Linked DNA regions of Homo sapiens: regions 1, 2 and 4 are each linked to region 3. Evidence: promoter capture Hi-C in 16 types of primary human blood cells and fetal thymus (Javierre and others, 2016). All regions are on one chromosome and are shown on one strand. The core of a region is centred on a gene start or on the middle of the fragment in contact, and the rest is flanking DNA. Distances in the headings are between cores, read along the strand shown.

Region 1 (2,700 bases), core at 29-2,528, 1.0 Mb before region 3:
TGGAAGGCAAAAGGCACGTCTTATATGGTGGCCGGCAAGAGAGAACTTGTGTAGGGGAACTCCCCTTTATAAAACCATCAGATCTCATGAGACTTATTCACTATCATAAGAACAGCATGGGGAAGACCCGCCCCCATGATTCAATTACCTCCTACTTGGTCCGTCCCATGACACATAGGAATTATGGGAGCTACAATTCAAGATGAGATTTGGGTAGGGACACAGCCAAACCATATCAGAAACAGTCTCCCAAACACTAGCGTGTAGTACATCCATCCATTTGTCCATACAGCCACTTATTCATCCAGCCAGCCACAAGCTTGTTTGTGTAATAAACATTTCTGCAGTATCACAGACCCTGCTGGGAAGATAGGGGTCAGTACGACTCCCCCCTGCCTTCCCAGAGTTTGCCCTTCAGTGGGCAGGATGGGACATCCATCTATCTATCTGCTTAGTTGTTTATTCCCTTAACTCTCCTGGAGTTCCTACTGCATGCCTCACCCTCCTAGGCCAGGGGGTGCAGTACCTGCCCTGGAAGAACTCCTGATTAGCTGGGGAGGCAGTGAACAGACAATCAGGGCTCAGTCTGCTGGACAGGAGCATAGGGTCTACCAGGAGGCTGGAGGAAATGTTCATGCCCTTCATTACAGACAAGGAAAACCAGCACTTGCTCCACTGTGCCAGGCCACAGCCCAAACTGTCACCCTTTACTGTGGCTTATTTCTCATAGACCATAACGAAAATGAAATTGTGTTTCTGTGATCTTTTATAATTAAAAATATTTAAAATAAGTAATGCCCAGTTTAGGATGCATCCCAAGATGTAAGCCCAGAGGTGCTGTCTAGAGGATGTGGGTGGTTCCCTACCTATCCAAATCTCAAAACAAGAAAGTGATGCTGATGCATTTGCTCATTGGCCAGGCCCCATAAGGGCTTTTTGTTTTTTTGACTGAAAATGCACTGCAGGCTGCCGTTTGCAAAGGCTAGGCTGGCCTCCCAGCAAAACTAGGAGCTACTGAGGATAGGGAGAGTGCCTCCTTCCTGCCTTCTCTTTTCCTAGTCCGACTTCTTTCCATCAGCAAGATCTTACTAAGCATCTGCTCCTTGTCCTATGGTGCAGCGGGGAAGCAATCGTGTAGAGCTGAGGGGTTGGTAAGCGAAAGAAAAAAATGAGGGGGCAGACCGCAGGTATCACCTCAGACCTCTGACTACCTTTGGCACTTGGCACAACCCAGCCCTCTTGCCTGCGTTTGGAGGTTTAATTGAGGGTTCAGCTTTGTTACCTGTATCATGTTTCAACCACTTTTCCCTCTTCCCTTTGCAAAGCTCTGGGGTGGTGTGTATCAAGGGCCCAGATGTTCTTCTGACTATTTGATCTGGTGACGTCATTTTTGGAAACCATACTAAGAATACTTATTTGCGATTCCTAGAGAGAGGAGGATGGCCATCTCAGCATTTCATTAAATACTCTGTTAATAATTTGCATCCTTCTTCATTCCTCAAGATTGTGAGCAGACCAATAGGAAATGTAATAAAGCATAAACAAGCAGCGAAATATCAGGATCAGAGAGATTAAAAGCTCTAGTAAGATGTCTACACCTATGCAAAAATATTGCCTAGAGAAGACGGCCATACGTTGCTATACTTAAATCATAAATTTGAGTCTAAGATTCTTTTTAGCCAAAGGGAAAAAAGAAACGTAGATACACTGCTTATTTTTCATGCAGACAAAATATGCCAGGGAATGACGTGCATGATAGCGAAATTTTGGAAGCTGCCTCCGTGTTCAACAGTAAAGGAGTGAATGAGTGAAGAAGAGCCTGTTCATTATGGAGTATTTACACACATCGAAAATGAGGGGGATGAAGACTTTGGTAGCAACAGGAAAACTGTGTATGAGATAATGTTAACTTTTAAAAGAAGAGAAAATGTTCGTAGGCTGTGAGTCTAAATGATCTAGCTGAAGGTTGTGTGGACATGGATGTGTATCAGATGCAGATGCTTGGGAGGAAAGGCTCTTCAGGAAGGTATTTCTCCTACCTTTTCCAAATTTTCAGGAAGTTAGTCTTGTTGTCTTCGCAACTGAAAATATTCAAATGAATGTGTGCTGGATGGACTCTCACAGATGTCTCGCCAGGATCTTCCATCCCCTGGAGCCATTTGCTTGGCTAATGGTGATTTTCTGACGCCCATGGAGGTCTGTATGCAATCACCCCTGGATGATGTGGAAAAGCTTTGCTCTCTGCATAACCAACACTAAGCACATCACGAGCCATCTTTTTTTTTTTTTATTAATCTCTAAAATAATTAAGGAAGCTCTAATACAGCCAAAGATTTAGCCCCAAAGATGTTCACTGTATCTATATTTACAATAGCAAAAACTGGAAATAAAGAAAATGCCCAGTAACAGGGGATTAGATAAGCAAGGGATAGGATGTCAATGCAATGGAACATCAGGCATTTATCAAAAATACTGTTGTCAGAATAACATACATGGTATTGGAGAGGTGTTCATGATGGACACATTACGGGGTTAGTTACCTACTTGTGGTCTCATGAAGATGCAATGAATCACACGAAAGTGTGGGAAGGAAATGCAGGGGAGGGATAATGGTGGCTGTTTGTGGGTTGCATTGTAGCAGGCCCCTTCAGGCTGCATGAGGAGGGACTGACTGTCATGGTGGGATGTAAAGTAGGGGTT
Region 2 (2,817 bases), core at 157-2,656, 1.1 Mb before region 3:
TCACCATGTTGGCCAGGCTGGTCTTGAACTCCTGACCTCAGGTGATCTGCCCGCCTTGGCCTCCCAAAGTGCTGGGATTACAGGCATGAGCCACTGCGCCCGGCAATATCTATTCTGTATACATTACGCGGTCTCAGGTATTTTGTTACAGCAGCGCTGAGACAAGATGCTTCATCAATATTAGTCGATTATGTACCAGTGAAATCTGGGGGAAATTTCCCATTTCATTCCTGAAATATTGACGTGTGTACCTTAGACTGAGTTGAATGTGAATCTCTTGTTTCATGAGTAAAACGCCTCCATAATAATATCTATCATTTATTCAATGCCTCCTCTGTGCCAGGCCTGTGCTGGGGGCTTTCTGAGAGGTCATCTGATGAGATGCTCACAGAGGCGTTGATAGAGGAGGACCTGGGATGTCGAGAAGAGAAACCGCATGAAGGCTTTTGCAGCTAGCAGCGGGCGCAGCGGAGACTTGACCCTGGCGATCTCGGAGGCGTATATCAAGCTGTGTGTGCCCTGTCCTGCTTTTCTCACAGGCTGCTGGGAGGACAAACTCAAGTCAGGGAAGCAAAAGGGCTTTGTACACTAAAACTCTGTCCCAACATGAGTTGTTTGTCTGTTTCAAATTTTACCAGCAGAAACGTCTGTCTTACCCCACTCTCTCCACCCCATTTCTCTCTGCCTCAATTATCTGGTTTCATAACCGTGGTGTGTCTTGTTGGATTTTGCTGTCTCAAACAAACAAACAAACAAACAAAATCTCTTCTACTAACTGAGTATACTGTGTCCTTAATGCAAACTTTGTTTCTCTGTAATTCTCTTCCTTCCTCCATGTCTCGATCCAGCACTGACTTTGTCTTTGCTGTTCTGGTTCCACATCTGGTGATGTTTTCAGCTGCCTGTTATTGGCTTGCAGGATGGCTGGAAATCCAACCTGGGTATAGGACGGCATAGTGGTTATACACAGAGACAGACCTGGGGTGATTTGGGCTCTACCTCGTGGTGGCTGACTTCGGGTTTCCTGTCTAAGGGGGATGAAAGTCTTTCTCTTCTGAGGATTAGATAAGATAAATGCCTCACAATGTAATTAGACAGAGTGTCTCTTTGAATGAGTAGGTCTTGAGGGTCTTGGAAGAATTCTGCAATCTGTGCTCAGGACCCCTGAGCCCTGCTGCTTTGCTCCCATGGCACTTGGGACACATGGCCATGAGTCCATGTGATGGGCTGTACTCTCACTACTATAATTGCTGAACTATGTCATCAACTTTTGTTTTCCCTTGCTCTGTTCTTTGGAGCTGGGGTGGTGTGTCAGATTCAGGCTTGCCTGAACTTGGAACCTCAGTACCACCACCTCACAATATTGCCATCTTTGGGCCCTGTCCCCCATGGTGTGCTTGGCATACAGCAGGCGTCCCATCCGCGTGTGTTGTTGAAGGAACAAATCACAGCCATGCTTATGATGCGACTGCTGCATGGCGAGAGACCGGGCCAGGCGCTTTGCTAAGACCCACTCATCACCGCTTATACAGAGCGGTGAAGCCCATCTGACAGGGAGACCACAGAGCCTGAGAAATGAATGCCCTTTCCCCAGCCGACTCAGCCAAAGCCTGAGCTTCCAGATGGGCACCCTGGCAGCATGTAGCAGGCCAGGGTTTGCAGGGCAGGGGAGCCATTCTACTTCAAGGCAGCAGGCAGCCCTCATGGCTGGTGGGGAGGCTACTGACAGTCACTAGCTGTGACTACTAGCAGGCAGGTTTTAGGGAATGACGCCTCGATTTTTCACTTTGAGGAAACCCTTGATGTGCACCGTGGCAGTGGCAGAGGCTAATCGCGTGGATCTGGGAGCTAATGCAGCTGCTGTAATTCCTGTCACCTTCTCACAGCTCAGTGGGAGCTTCCGATGAATAAATCGTGGCATTCAGGGGCTGCATACATCAGTGGCAGGTGTCACCGTCATAGGTCGGGCAGGGCACTGGTGCTCCACCTTGCCTTGTCTTTAATTAAAGGAGGAAATATGTCAGAACTGACAGGACCACTGACCAGCCTACCAGGTCCTTTCCAGTCGCAGTGAAATCAACCGTTAAAGATGCTCATCTCAAGAGGAGAACGAGTCTCTTATGCTTCTGGGGAGAAATCACCATCTGGCGAGGGTTTCCTGGCCTTTGGGGGTCCCCCTGCTACCTCCTCTGAGCCATCTGGGGCTCCCCTGCATTTGCCCCTTACTTGGGAACTGTAACCCTTAGGGATCAGAGGGAGCATGGGAACAAAACAATTCAATAAAGTCACAATAAAGCATCCAAAGCCCTTCATACTTTTTCACTTTCTTTAACTCAATTTATTTTTCATTTTGTGGACAGAGATTTAGTCTGGGTATTAGTTTATGATTTTTACTGAAGGAATTACTCAACACACACACATATAAAAAGGAAATATTATTTTTATCATTTATTTTGTGCCATGTATACCATAGGAGAAAAAAACGGAGCGAAATCACTTCAGTACCGCTGTGTTTTTCATTACAAAGTTATTACATATAGAAATTACTCCAAATTATCTGAAATGAATGGAAATTATGAGGTTTAAATTCCCCAGGTTACTGCAGGCACAGCTCTGGAAATTTATTTTGTCATCTTGCTGAACATAATTGCTACAACAAAATTTCTTCCATTTTACAACTGCAGCATAACTTATTTATACCGGTGTAGCTGTAATTTTACATCAATAAGTTGCATGGGAAGGAATACACAGGTGGTAATTGAAAACAATAATTTGTACTGAGGTCCAGGTGGAACGGTTGGCTCAGAAAAAGGCTCC
Region 3 (2,787 bases), core at 23-2,522:
CCAGCAGGATGCTGCAGCCTCGGTAAAATGCCTCCCCCACCATTTTCTTTCCATGAGCTGCTCTTTCTCTCTCCCCTCCTGGCTGTCGCCTTATCTCCTCCTCTCCCCTTTTAAATGCAGATAATAGAATAAGGCAAACAGCTTATGTCCGCAAAATTCCTCTGAAATTGCCCCCTAACATGCATACCCAGAGCTGGCCTTGATTGACATCAAGTGCAGTAATTAAAAACCCTGCCAGCTGACATAGGTGAAGGTTTATTTATAATTACACATTTTTAGGATGGCTCGTCCAGGGTCGGTGCATTTAAAAAGATAAGTCGGCCACAGCTCTGTTACTCCCCCAATTATAGATTTGAATGGTGGGAGTTTATAATGGGGGCGGGGAATTCTGCTTTGCAAAAAAAGGAATTATTTGTTCATAAAACCAGGAGGCCAGGGTACGAAAGTCTGATGGCAGAGCCTTTGTCTAGAAAGCTGTGGGAGAGAGAGTGTGTGTCTGTGTGTGTACCTGTGTATGCCTGTGTGTGCATGGGTGTGTGCACCTGCATGTGTACCTGGGAGTGTGTGTGTCTATCTATGGGTGTGTGTGGGCCTGTATGTGTACATGTGTGGGTCTGTGTGTATGGATGCATGCACCTGTGTGTATACATGTGTGTGCCTGCATGCACATGTGGGTGTATGGAAGGGGAGTCATGCGGTGAAGCAGAAAACACCTCCCTCTCCCTGTGCTTAAACACAGAGCTATACTCACAAATCATTTCCCTGCTTGCTTTATCTAAAATGTTAAAAATCTTGCCCAGCTTCAAATCCAAGACTATCAGATCTGACATTCCTAAGAACCCACTGTGAAAGAGGATTCCTCCGTGGGAGCCCAGGGAGCTGGGACAGGAGCTTCTGGGAGGACTGTGTGGGCATAGAGTTCCTAGGAGGCGGAAGCTGCCTGCACACAGCAGGGTGTTTGACACCCATGGGGCAGTGCCCAAAAGCAGCAGCCAGCAGGTCCCCTCTCCCCAACATCCGCTTCTCATTGTTGCCTTTTTTTAGAGCTTGGTATCACTTACCCAGAGGGGCAGAGCCGGCCATATCAGACTGTGCATCTCACGTGTGTGGTTTCTTGGGCCCCACAGCTGGAGACAATGGCAGGAGCGGCCTTGGAGAGCCCCGATTGTCACCTGGCGTCTTGGCAGGCAGCTGAACCCAGAAGTAAACTGAGCCAGGCAGGGAGCTACAGGTGTTAAAGGTACCAGAAAGCAAGGCTCGAAAATCAGATATGAGAGAAAAGGGGAGCAACAGGAAGCCTTTGTATAGGGGGTGCCACTGCATTTCAGACATGCCTGGCCAGGGGGCACAGGGCACAGGGCTTGTCCAAGAAGACAGGATGCAAAACCCACTGCTGACCAGGGAGCCAAGAGCTGTGAAAGGGTCTAGGTGGGTCACCCAGAACAGTCCCTCTGCCCCAGAACGCTGCACAGAGAGATTGCCTGGAAGGAAGCAGGTCCTTCCGATTAAGTGGCAGAACCCTACTGAGAGAAATAAAAGTGAGGAATGGTGAATTCGGCACCACTTGCCAGACCAATGGGCTTCATCAATTAATCACAGCCAAATAATCACCACCTACATTAAAGAATAATACATGAAAAGGACAGGAGCCTCACTGTAACTTATTCAGAAAGGGCTGCCTCCCTAATCCCTCTGAGTCCTGACATGTTAACAGGGTAGCGACTAATTAGATGTCAAAAATTCATAAGCGCTCTTTAATATTGCATATATCTGCAGCCGACATTTCAATATGAGAGTTGTATACACAGAAGTCACTATAGCATTAAAACACAGTGGGGTGGAAGAAATAAAAGGGAACCAATAAAAACAATGTCCCTTAAAAACCCCAGAGAGTGCCAGCTTTGGAAGTGTGTACTTTCTTATTCAGAAAAGGTATCACCTTAATAAGAATTATAGGCAAAGGGGTTTCGCTGCTCTGTGCTGCATGGACAGAAAGGGGGTGAGGAGACGAGCTTATCAAAAGCACTGCCAGGTAAATAGTAATTTATTGTGCATGCACAATGAACATTACCCAGTGTCCTGACACTGGGTGATAATGAAAGGCATGTTATTGTGGAATCCACTGAGGGAATTTCCACTCCCCCCGCTCCCTTCTCCCCTTCTCCTCTTGTCTCTCTTGAGCAAAGAAGCCGTGATGGGTCCTGGCAGCTTCTGCCTGTTTCAAGCCATTTCACATAATATAGAAAGCACCTGAAGTTTAGTGGATTAAGTAAGTGAGTTAGTTTGCCAGCTTGGTGATATATATGTTGCTTGCATGTGAACTTATATTTCAAATGCTGGGGACTATATTTTTATGAAACAAGCCTTTTCCTGTCGGAAGAATTATAGGAATGTGATATAATACAAGGCAGTGAGATTAAAAACAATGCATCATAGCAGAGAGAAAATGCACTGTTTTATGACTTGCATCCGTTAATTGAACCTCTCAGGAATCAAGAGAAGGGCTCTGCAGGAACCTGCTGGAAAATCACTCTCTTTTTTTACTTCCATGTTCTGTTTTTTTGTTGTTGTAGTTGTTATTTTTATTTTTTATCATACATATAGATACATATATACATGCATATATATATACACACACATATTTATGGACACACACAGCCATGAATGACGTATGTTGCTTTCTGTACAATACTGTACTTTTATTTTCTTTTAATGCTGCTCACATTTGACTTAGAGTGAGGAAGTTGTGTTGAAGAGCATTAAAGAAGCTATCTGAATTCAAATCAT
Region 4 (2,700 bases), core at 50-2,549, 1.1 Mb before region 3:
GTGGAGTTTCTGCGTCAAAGGGTAATCCTATATTTAATTTTTTGAGGAATTGCCAAACCGTTTTCTATAGTGGCTACGCTGTTTTACATTCTCACCAACAGTGCACAGAGGTTCTCATTTCTCCGCATCCTTATCTGACTGTTGGGTAATTTTAGTGTTTTTTGGACTGTTGGAGTTGATAGCCAAGGAACCTGCCTCTCAGGGATGTGGCAACAACTGGTCCAAGTTAGGTGGGTAATAAACCTGAGGGCGGTTTGAATCCAGCCTCAGCCAGCCTAGGTGTGGCCCTATAGTCACCACTGGACTGCTGGGGGCTACCACCTTCAGTATATTTTAGTTGAGGGTCTTGAATCCCCTTTGTCTTGGAAATGGTTGCCCATGGCAGTTCTCAGTTCTGTCTCCCAGGACAGCTTTTTTTTTTTTAATTTTTATTTTTTATCTTTATTTTTTATAACAAAGCTAAACATTTAGCTACCTTGATAGCTTGGGGAAGAAAATTCTACAAATGGACAATTTTCATTGTTCTTTCTGTTGTGTCTTCAGGGTGTTGATTTGAGTGTGACTTAGCAGAAGGAGCCCCGTATTTGGAATCAGAATCCCTAGGAGCGAGATAGAGCTCACTCGGTGTCCTGTGCACGCTTTGGCCCTCTCTGAGCCTTGTGGGGTCTCCCTGCCTGATGGGAATCATCACACTGGTTTTGCTTCCTTGGCTGGGCGGGGAGGGACTGGGGACAGGGAATCTCAAGGGAGTGGCCTTGGGTCCTTTGTATATCGGGATGGTAATTGCGATGATTCTTATTAGTGGTTGTGCTTTCTCTCTATTGTCCTGTATTGGTGTCCCAGGGCTGCCGTAGCAAATGGGCACAGACTGGGTAGCCTAAGACAATAAGAAATTGATTCTGTGGTCGGGTGCGGTGGCTCACGCCTGTAATCCCAGCACTTTGGGAGGCTGAGGTGGGTGGATCTCTTGAGCCCAGCAGTTCAAGACCAGCCTGGGCAACATGGCGAAACCCATTCTCTAAAAAAATTAGCCAAGAATGGTGGCATACACCTGTAATCCCAGCTACTGGGGAGGTGGAGGCAGGAGGAGCCCTTGAGCCCAGGGAGGTTGAGGCTGCCATGAGCCGAGATCGTGCCACTGCACTCCAGCCTTGGGCAACACAGTGAGACCCTGTCTCAAAAAAAAAAAAAGAAGAAATAAAAAAAAGAAAAGAAATGTATTTTCTCACAGTTTGGGAGGCCACAGGTCCAAGATGGAGGGGTCGGCAGGGCCGTGCTCCCTGATTCCCTGCCTCTGTGGGCACACAGCTTTCTCCTCTGGGTTTGACTTCTCTTCTGAACAATTAAAATAAAAAAGACAATTGTCTTTGGATTCAGGACCCACCTAGACCATCCAGAATGATCTCATCAACAGCCTTCACTTAGTCACACCTGCAGTGACCTTGCCCCTAAATAAGCTCACATTTACAGGTCCTGGGATCTAGCTGTGGACAGCTTATTTCAGGTGGCTCCATCCAATCTTCTCTGCATGCCTCTTGCTGGATTCTAGGCCCTTCCAGGGCAGGAAACCCAGCTGGTCTCGGTGAACTGAGGTCTGGGACAGGTTCAGGCACTTACAGGGGATTCCCCAAATGTCTCCTGCATTGAAGCTGGAGCTGGCTTTTGACAAGATGGACACATGTTCCTTTTTTTCTCAGGAATGTGGTGATTCTGAAATGCCTGGCCCTTCGGCTAGCACTCAGACTTCTGTGTTTATGGAAGGCAGTGTGGTCACATGTGGCCCCCAGCTCTGCCCCCATGCTGAGTCAGAACACAACTATTAACGATAGGGCGGGGAGATGGCTTAAAAAAATCTGTGGCCGGGCGCAGTGGCTCATGCCTGTAATCCCAGCACTTTGGGAGGCCGAGGCGGGCGGATCACGAGGTCAGGGGATCGAGACCATCCTGGCTAACATGGTGAAACCCTGTCTCTAGTAAAAATACAAAAAAAAAAAAAAAAAAAAATTAGCCAGGCATGGTGGCGGGTGCCTGTAGTCCCAGCTACTTGGGAGGCTGAGGCAGGAGAATGGCGTGAACCTGGGAGGCGGAGCTTGAAGTGAGCTGAGATCGCGCCACTGCACTCTAGCCTGGGCAACAGAGTGAGACTCTGTCTCAAAAAAAAAAAAAAAAAAAAAACCTGCAATGATTATTATGAGAATTAACAGAGTTGAATAGGAGCTAAAAATAACTGGACACACACTTGCCTATAATCCAGATTTTAAAAGAAAATATAATTATTTTTGTAAACTGGCTCTGAGAAGCCAGAAATATTTTTAGTTTGCATCTTTTAAGACATGGTGCATGTTTTCAGGGAGTGGAGTTCGGAGCCCACTGGCATGTGATGATGTCACCAAGTCAGAGCACACCTGAAGCCTGTGGGGACGGGGTGGTGGCAGGCGGCGGGGTCAGAGGTTAAGGAGCCCAGTTCTGAGCACCATTTGTCTGAGCATGCATTTGAGGAGAGGTGTTCCACCAGCCTACCGTGGCTTCTGTAGGTGCTGGAGCCTGGGGTGTCCTGGCTACCCCCAGTCTGGAAGCCAGTAGCATTGAGAGAACAGCAGCTGGCTCAGCTCAGAGGCCAGGGGGTGGGGGTTCCCCCTGGATAAGGTGGACCTGACAGGGTCTGAGCGGACCTGCAAGAAATAACCAAGACTTGAGGGA

Evidence for each region. Contacts are between HindIII fragments. The CHiCAGO score rates a contact against its expected background, and 5 or more counts as called.
Region 1: a contact is called between a fragment that was not itself captured here and the fragment with the promoter of LINC02295 in region 3, in 3 of 17 cell types (naive CD4 T cells, total CD4 T cells and naive CD8 T cells). The highest score is 6.8, in naive CD4 T cells.
Region 2: a fragment that was not itself captured here is called in contact with the fragment with the promoter of LINC02295 in region 3 in 8 of 17 cell types (M2 macrophages, M0 macrophages, M1 macrophages and 5 more); the score reaches 14.0 in M2 macrophages.
Region 4: a fragment that was not itself captured here is called in contact with the fragment with the promoter of LINC02295 in region 3 in 7 of 17 cell types (naive CD4 T cells, naive CD8 T cells, M1 macrophages and 4 more); the score reaches 8.6 in naive CD4 T cells.

Annotation. Positions count from the first base shown.
Region 1 is chr14:99,163,574-99,166,273 of GRCh38, reverse strand. No RefSeq gene overlaps it. Among named protein-coding and RNA genes, the nearest start is that of BCL11B, 110 kb to the left of the region's middle. The HindIII fragment of the contact is 1,913 bases long and covers 322-2,234 here.
Region 2 is chr14:99,279,264-99,282,080 of GRCh38, reverse strand. LOC105370660 (a long non-coding RNA gene) reads left to right here. Exons shown (of 3, transcript XR_001750881.2): 3 at 344-2,070. Among named protein-coding and RNA genes, the nearest start is that of BCL11B, 8.5 kb to the right of the region's middle. The HindIII fragment of the contact is 8,266 bases long and covers 1-2,817 here.
Region 3 is chr14:98,134,472-98,137,258 of GRCh38, reverse strand. It overlaps LINC02295 (long intergenic non-protein coding RNA 2295), which reads right to left and starts at 1,272. Exons shown (of 3, transcript NR_184268.1): 1 at 1,062-1,272. All of the region lies in intron 1 of LOC105370655 (a long non-coding RNA gene), which reads left to right. The HindIII fragment of the contact is 6,410 bases long and covers 1-2,787 here.
Region 4 is chr14:99,217,537-99,220,236 of GRCh38, reverse strand. All of the region lies in intron 3 of BCL11B (BCL11 transcription factor B), which reads left to right. Among named protein-coding and RNA genes, the nearest start is that of BCL11B, 53 kb to the left of the region's middle. The HindIII fragment of the contact is 6,562 bases long and covers 1-2,700 here.